Linked DNA regions of Homo sapiens: regions 2 and 3 are each linked to region 1. Evidence: promoter capture Hi-C in 16 types of primary human blood cells and fetal thymus (Javierre and others, 2016). All regions are on one chromosome and are shown on one strand. Each heading gives the region's core, a stretch centred on a gene start or on the middle of the fragment in contact. The rest is flanking DNA. Distances are from core to core; before and after follow the strand shown.

The links. The method cuts DNA at HindIII sites, captures the fragments that hold promoters and counts their contacts. A CHiCAGO score of 5 or more calls a contact.
Region 2: a contact is called between a fragment that was not itself captured here and the fragment with the promoter of SLFN12L in region 1, in 17 of 17 cell types (naive CD8 T cells, activated CD4 T cells, non-activated CD4 T cells and 14 more). The highest score is 27.8, in naive CD8 T cells.
Region 3: a fragment that was not itself captured here is called in contact with the fragment with the promoter of SLFN12L in region 1 in 4 of 17 cell types (total CD8 T cells, activated CD4 T cells, naive CD8 T cells and 1 more); the score reaches 8.3 in total CD8 T cells.

What each region holds. Positions count from the first base shown.
Region 1 is chr17:35,536,383-35,539,019 of GRCh38, forward strand. SLFN12L (schlafen family member 12 like) reads right to left here and starts at 1,296. Exons shown (of 5, transcript NM_001363830.2): 1 at 1,191-1,296. RefSeq lists an enhancer at 624-703. The HindIII fragment of the contact is 3,143 bases long and covers 1-1,594 here.
Region 2 is chr17:35,295,408-35,298,044 of GRCh38, forward strand. No RefSeq gene overlaps it. Among named protein-coding and RNA genes, the nearest start is that of SLFN5, 54 kb to the left of the region's middle. The HindIII fragment of the contact is 4,202 bases long and covers 1-2,637 here.
Region 3 is chr17:35,404,746-35,407,382 of GRCh38, forward strand. It overlaps the pseudogene LOC729839. Among named protein-coding and RNA genes, the nearest start is that of SLFN12, 26 kb to the right of the region's middle. The HindIII fragment of the contact is 2,026 bases long and covers 319-2,344 here.

The DNA of each region.
Region 1 (2,637 bases), core at 46-2,545:
TAATGTTGGTAAACAAAAAGACCCAATGCAGTGACACATTTGCAAACATTATATCTAAATCCAACTAGATCACAGTTTCCCAGTCAATATAGCTTAAGTTTCTCTGAAAACAAAATAGTTTATATATTACGAAAAACAAAAAAACACAGTTGGGCTCAGTGGCTCATGCATGTAATCCCAGCACTTTGGGAGGCTAAGGTGGGCAGATTGCTTGAGCCCAGGAGTTTGAGACCAGTCTGAGCAAGGAAATCCAGTCTCTACAAAATATAAAAAAATTAGCTGGGTGTGGTGGTGCATGGTCTATAGTCCCAGCTCCTCGAGAGTCTGAGACGGGAGGATCACTTGAGCCTAGGGAGGTTGAGACTGCAGTGAGCCACGATTGCATCACTGCACTCCAGCCTGGGTGACAGAGTGAGAGCCTGTCTCAAAAAAAAAAAAATAAGAAAAATAAGAAACCCCTTTTCATAGTGATGAAGCAATCAGCTAACTGCTAAAGAATCTTCACAGGCGAGGCTGGGTACGGTGGCTAATGTCTATAATCCCAGCACATTGGGAGGCCAAGGTGGGACGATTACTTGAGGTCAGGAGTTTGAAACCAGCCTGGTCAATCTAGCAAGACTTCCTCTCTACAGAAACGAAAAAAATTAGCCAGGCACCCTCACGCTCAGTGCCTGTAGTCCCCGCACTTTCAAAGGCTGAAGCAGGAGGATCCTTTGAGCCCTGGAAGGTCGAAGCTGCAGTGAGTTGTGATCGCACCACTGCACGACAGCCTGGGCGAAAGAGTGAGAACCTGTCTCAAAAAAAAAAGAGAATCTTCACAGGCATCCCTTCCTCCCAAGTCTCCTCACTTGTCTTATCTGAAGGTTTGTTCCCCAGAACTATGAGAACCCTCTACATCTCTTTCTCTCAGCCCAGCCAGGTTCCTCTGGGCTTGAGTCCTACATCCCTGGCCTCAGCTACAAGGTGAGTACAGTCTAAGGACCAGCTCCTCTCATTGTCTATTTCACTTATTTATTAAAAGTGTAGACCTAAAGTGTCTACTTCATCCTCTCTTGCCTAAAGTGGGTATATCTGGAAAAGTCTGTAGCCACAGAGGAGATTTTCATCTTAGAGTTATGAGGTCTCTTTGAGAGACTCTCCATTCCATTGAATAAGCATGGCTTAGATCTCTCTGGACAATCTGTACTTACCTTGGGAGTTAAAAGATTCCACAGGGTTGAGATGCTGAAAAGATGAGAAAGTTCCAGGAGCTCTGATCTACTTAGGAGTCCCTGCAGTTTGGCTGAGGACAGTGGTAATCCTCAAAGGCTAGAAATGGCTTTCAAATCTGAGCGCTCTGCAGAACAAGTCCAGGAAAAATGCTGCTTTGGTATTTCTGAGAATGAAACTAGAAGGTTGCCGCCTTTTTAAAGTTTCCATTTCTCAGAATTCTCCTACTCATTTTAGGCCTGCCATTCTAGCCTCAAGGGGGGAATATGTGCTATTTCCTGTTTATCAATAGACTAAGTGGGCCAAAGACTAGTTCTGGCTAAAGACTAAAGAAACTTTATCAGAAGAAATGCTTCAAACACTTTGGAGAATAATGCTACAAAAAAGCTTTTTTGGATACACACCAAACTGTTATTAAGGATTACTTTCTCAGAAGTAGAACTGGAGAGGAAGAAGATGGAAAGGGAGGAGAGAATTGTTACTTTGTACAGTAGGCCTGAGTTACTCAACAAATATTTTTTATTGGCAAGGAAAAGGGAAAAAACAAAACAAAAAGAAACAGTGAAAGAGCCAGAAAGGAAATTAAACAGTGCATCTCACTGACTTTCTCATTCAATTTTTATAGTAGCCTCCATAATCCTAATAGTTGTTGTAATTAGAGCCGAGATGGATTCACTGCTATTAATTTAGCTGCTAATACTGTTGCTATTGTTCTGATCAAGTTTCTGCTACTTTTTGACCTGCTGTCTCCCTCAACAGCTGTAGGAGTCACAATTCCCTTGAGCTCTTGTTGGTTTCTTGTTCCATTTTTTTTGGGTTTCTATCCTTATACATTGAAAAAATTATTACAGTGTGGATTTAGCAATCATTTTTAGCTATAAGAAAAGGTGCTGTGCACTAGAGGGAATTGAATTAGAGATGTCATTCGTTAATCAGATAATTAGTTCCCAATCTTGGCTGCTTGTTCAAATCTTTTGGCATGCTTTTTAAAAATTCAGATGCTAAGGTCCTTCCCCAGACATTCTGAATTATACTGTCAAGTAGTGGTGCAATATCAGGAGGTAGAGACATATCACATATACACAACACACACATATAGGCATAAACATAAAGACAGACACAAATAGATCTTATAATTTTCATTTAAAATCTTAGCCATGATTAGGTATACATAAACACAAAATTTAATAATTTTGATAAAAATTGATTCTCATCTTTGCCTATTAATATTTTCTTTCGATCTCATCTTTCCATAGACATTTGTTTAGGATGACAGCTTTCTTTTAAAAAAAAATCCTTTTAGATATAAAAGTTCAAATCTTCAAAGGTATACCTGTCTTAATTGTGACTCAAAACCAGTAAGTTTTTATGGCTTAAAACCTATAAGCCTTTTATCACTTAACCATGGATGTAAGAGACATCCCCAAG
Region 2 (2,637 bases), core at 39-2,538, 240 kb before region 1:
ACTGTGATTGAGTGTGGATATGAAGGATGGGACGGGCGGGGCGGGCATTGTGTCAGGTCTTGGAGAGGCCAAGAGAGGCAGAGGCAGGGGCAGGGTAGAAAAACAGAATCAGAGCAAACATTGTCAGTTGCAAATTATCACTTTTGCAACACTGAATTTTCTTGTTTTTCTCCCCTTTCCCTTTCCTTGGCTGGTTAGTTAATATATTTTTATAGCGCCCTTTTCTTTCCTTTGCATGATTGTGAAATCTTGCTGTTTACCTCTACTTTTAACACCATCCTTGTAAAGTCCCACAGTCCTCACAGTGGTCAGGCTGCATCAGCATAATGGAAAAAACAATATTTCTCCTTGATTTAACTTTGGAGAGAGTCTGACAGAAGGAGTGAGTGCTCTCAAATGCCTTCAGTTCTGCTGAGTCCTTAGGAGTCCAGTTAGGCCTTCCTGGGCCATCACTGCTTGAAGCCCAATTATGTGATTTGTCACATCTTCCTCTAGACTATACTCATGCCTAAAGAATCTCCATCCTTGAAACTCCCATTTCCTGCGTTAATTTCCAGGAAATGGACTCCCTTCAAGGATCCTCAGAAAGAATCTAAAAAAGGGTCCTTGAAGGCAGTTAATTTCTGGTTAAATAAAACATCTGCCATCTTTTCAGAATATAGACTTTTCCTTCTTACCATAAAAAACGTGAGCTTGTTCTGGGCAGTGATTTCTTTGCTAGGTCCCAAAAGTACAGGCAATGAAAACAATAATAGACAAATGGTATTGCATCAAACAAAAAAAACTACTGCACAGCAAAGGAAATAATTAACAGAGTGAAGATACAGTCCACGGATTGGGAGAACATATTTGCAAATTATACAGCATAAAATGGGCTAATATCCAAAATATACAAGGTATTCAAATGACTCAATCGAAAGAAACAAATAACTTGATTAAAAACTGGGCAAACAATGTGAATACACATTTTTCAAAATACACACAAATGGCCAATAGATATTTGGAAAAATGCTCAATATTACTGATCAGGGAAATGTAAATAAAACCACAATAATATATCACCTCATGCTGTTAGATTGACTATTACAAAAAAGATGAATGAAAACAAGTGTTGGAGAGGATGAGGAAAAAAGAAAACTCTTGTACACTGTTGGAGGAAATGTAAATTAGTACAGTCATTGATATGGTTTGGCTGTGTCCCCATCCAAATCTGAGCTTGAATTGTATCTCCCGGAATTCCCACATGTTATGGGAGGGACCCAGGGAGAGGTAGTTTAATGATGGAGGCCGTCTTTTCCCATGCTATTCTCATGATAGTGAATAAGTCTCATGAGATCTGATGGGATTATCAGGGGTTTCCTCATTTGCTTCTAGCTCATTTTCTCTTGCCACCACCATGTAAGAAGTGCCTTCACTTCCCGCCATGATTCTGAGATTTCCCCAGCCATGTGGAACTGTCCCAATAAACCTCCTTTTCTTCCCAGTCTTGGGTATGTCTTTATCAGCAGCATGAAAACAGACTAATATAGTAAATTGTTACCAGTAGAGGGGTATTGCTGAAAAGATACCAGAAAATGTGAAAGTGATTTTGGAGCTGGGTAACAGGCAGAAGTTGGAACAGTTTGGAAGCCCCAGAGGAAGACAGGAAAATGTGGGAAAGTTTGGAACTTCCTAGAGACTTGTTGAATGGCTTTGACCAAAATGCTGATAGTGATATGGACAATAAGGTCTAGGCTGAGGTGGTCTCAGATGGAGATGAGGAGCTTGTTGGGAACTGGAGTAAAGGTGGATCTTGTTATGTTTTAGCAAAGAGGCTGGTGGCATTTTGCCCCTGCCCTAGAAATTTGTAAAACTTTGAACTTGAGAAAGATGATTTAGGGTATCTGGTGGAAGAAATTTCTAAGCAGCAAAGCATTCAAGAGGTGACTTGTTAAAGGCATTCAATTTCATAACAGAAGCAGAGCATAAAAGTTTGGAAAGTTTGCAACCTGACTATGCAATAGAAAAGAAAACCCCATTTTCTGGGGAGAAATTCAAGCCAGCTGCAGAAATTTGCATAAGCAGTGAGGAGCCTACTGTTAATCCCCAAGACCATGGGGAAAATGTCTTTAGGCCATGTCAGAGACCTTCACAGCAGCCCCTCCCATCACAGGTCTGGAGGCCCAGGAGGAAAAAGTAGTTTCCTGGGCTGGACAGAGGATCCCTGTGCTGTGTGCAGCCTAGGGACTTTGACAGAACAGGAGCATCACCATCTTGGACAAACACCACCATTCTAAAGTTCCCCTTAATCAAAAACCACCTAAATCCACAGGGCATCAGCCTAAAGGCTAAGGCCAGCATGACCATAAACCATAAATGACATCTCTGACCAGAAACATTTCAACCATAAGATAAACCCCTCCCCAGAGAGATGTCAGCCCCAAGACAACCTCCCCTCCTACCAGAGACATTCCAAACCCACAATAAACTTCTTCCCCACAAAGAAACATTCCAAGCCTATGATAAGCTCTCTCACCCTAAAATCAACAAATACGCTTAATCTGTAAGAGAGTGTGCTCCTGACCAAAATCAGCCAGAAGCCCCTCTCAGGTTTATTCTCCAAAATAAACCTGTCTTTGACTGGTGAGTCACTTTTCG
Region 3 (2,637 bases), core at 82-2,581, 130 kb before region 1:
CAACTAATACAATAAAAAAGTAATTTTTAAAAGCCTGATTAAATTTTCAGTTAAAATATTCACATAATACTACACACTTTGAGAACTTTTAGTAATTAAAAGAATGGCTTTTAAAACTTACTTAAAACTGTTTAATGAGAACAGGTGGCTAGAGAAGCATTTTATACCACAGATGATTAAATGGACTCACCTTGTAAAGGGGTCATGAAAAAATAAGTTAAAAACAAGTAAAGTGCGTTAACAGATCAGTAAAATAATTTGGAAAACTATACATACTTCAAGAAAACGTTAATACATTTCCAAAAACACTAAATGTTAAGCTTTTTGTCTTGAAAAATACACAAAAATGTTTTATTTAAAAGATAAAAGTAGAAATTACTCTTTAAAAATCAACAAAGTAAAATTTTGAGATACAAAATGGTATATTAGGGGTGGGGGGAGTTTTCTTTTTAAAAAATAATAATGACTAAAGGAAACTCATGAAGTTTAATATCAATGTGAAAAATTACTATAAAATGATTTTTAGCCCCACTTGTTAAGAAACTATATTATATAGTATTATGTGCTATTTCTTTTCTAGAGCACCAAATAATCATCTGATATTAGGTGTTTTACACTGTAAATGAGCTAATTTGTTTATTTATTTATGGAGATAGGTCTCACTCTGTAATCCAGGCTGGAGTGCAGTGGAATAAACACAGCTCCTTGCAGCCTCGACCTCCTGGGCCCAAGCAATCCTCCTGCCTCAGCCTCCCAAGCAGCTGAGACCACAGGTGCACACCACCATGTCTGGCTAATTATTAAAAAAAAAAATTGCGTGGAGTTGGGGTCTCACCGTGTTGCCCAGGCTGGTCTCAAACTCCTGGGCTCAAGCAATTCTCACATCTCAGCCTCCCAAAGTGCTGGGATTACAGGTGTGAGCTACTGGGCCCAGCCCTAATTTGTTTTTAAATCCAAAAATAAATCAACAACAGAAGATAGCACTCTAACTTTTACTATTTTAAAATATTTTCTGCATAGCTTCCCCAAATATTAGCATTCTAATTGTGACCAGCATTATGGTTTTTAATGAGCCTAATCCAAGTAAACAATAAACAAATGCGCATGAAAACTGTGAGAAATAACCATTGGTGTATGCTTATGTTCCATAAATAGTTATCAAGTTTACCTTTAAATTGCATGTTTAGTTTTTCCTTACAACTTAACACTAGATACAGGAAACTGTAGAAGTCATAAACAAAGACTAAACAAAATCCTCTCGTCTTGCTAAGATGTGTACATGATTGCAGTAGACTTATGCTGAATATAAATATATGTTACATACATGTCTCTTATTCTATACAAAATCTCAGCCAATATTTTCCCACAGAGGAGAGGAATTTGTTCTCTCAAATTGAAAGTTTTTGCCCTTTAAAAAGGTTATTTTAAATAGCCCTAAAGAAATATGTTCTGAAAATAACAGTTGTATCATATTCCACTTACTATTTTCCGGTTGAAAACTTCAATAAAATAAGTTTACCATAGTCAATAAGCCTGTTCAATGAACACTGAAAAATAAAAATTTATCCCCAGAGTGATTGCAAATGAAAATGTGTGCTATTTCAAAATTACATGTACCTCTTTAAAAATCAGGGCAATTAATAGAACACTTAAATCGTATTAGCTAAATTCAAATTTAGCCCCTAACAATAAAGTTTTCTTATTCCTTTATAGTGTTTTACAAAATAATGAATTAATTATCATAATTTTCTTTTGCTACTTACTTCAAACTATAAAGTTAGGACTGCAAATTGATGTAGGTATCTTATATTATTGGTCTACACCTACTTATTTATAAACATTAATGGAAACAATACTGTTCCAATCTACCACAAGGATTTCCTTCTATTTTACAAGCAAGAACTTCTAACCCAGCTCAACAACAAATCACACTTTAAATTTGGGTTTGAAAACATGTATTATTAGAGGCACATGTTTAAAAACAAGTACAGTATGAAATCTTCCTTTTCAGTGAGCCAGTGAATTTTCATTCGTTTGTTTGTTTCTATGAATATTTGGTTTACTTCCTTCTTCTGGGCAAGATTAGTATGCAATTCTCATTAGCAAGTCAAAAACCTACAGACCTAAACTATATGAAAACTTAAGTTGGTATTGTTAGATGAAGACAGGTAAGCTAACACCAAAAGAACAACTGTACTAAATTTTAACACTATTCTTTAATAGTTCCATTTTCCTGAGTTTGTGTTTGTTCTTTGGCATTGGTTTAGGATATAATCCATTTTTTCAGAAGGCGTTGCTTGCTGGGGCCAATTTGGGCACCATGCTAAATCTGGAAAGAGCATAAAGCTTCAAGAGGGCGAAGCAAAGTCTCTTGTATGTAATTATTTTTCTCCAAGATGGAAAGAGCAACAGGTGCACACTCCAGTGTAGAAAGACATCTATTAATTGGCTGTATCCGAATTACATACTGACTAGAAATGCTCGTTTTTAACTGCACCTGTTTGGGGGTGTCAGAACAAGGAATTCTTACAGAAAATGTCCTTAGCCTGGCTCCGTGTACCATCAATGACGATGATTGTAGAAGGATAAACAGGAGAATCTAATATAAATTCTTCCAGATTAGCAGCTTCTTATATT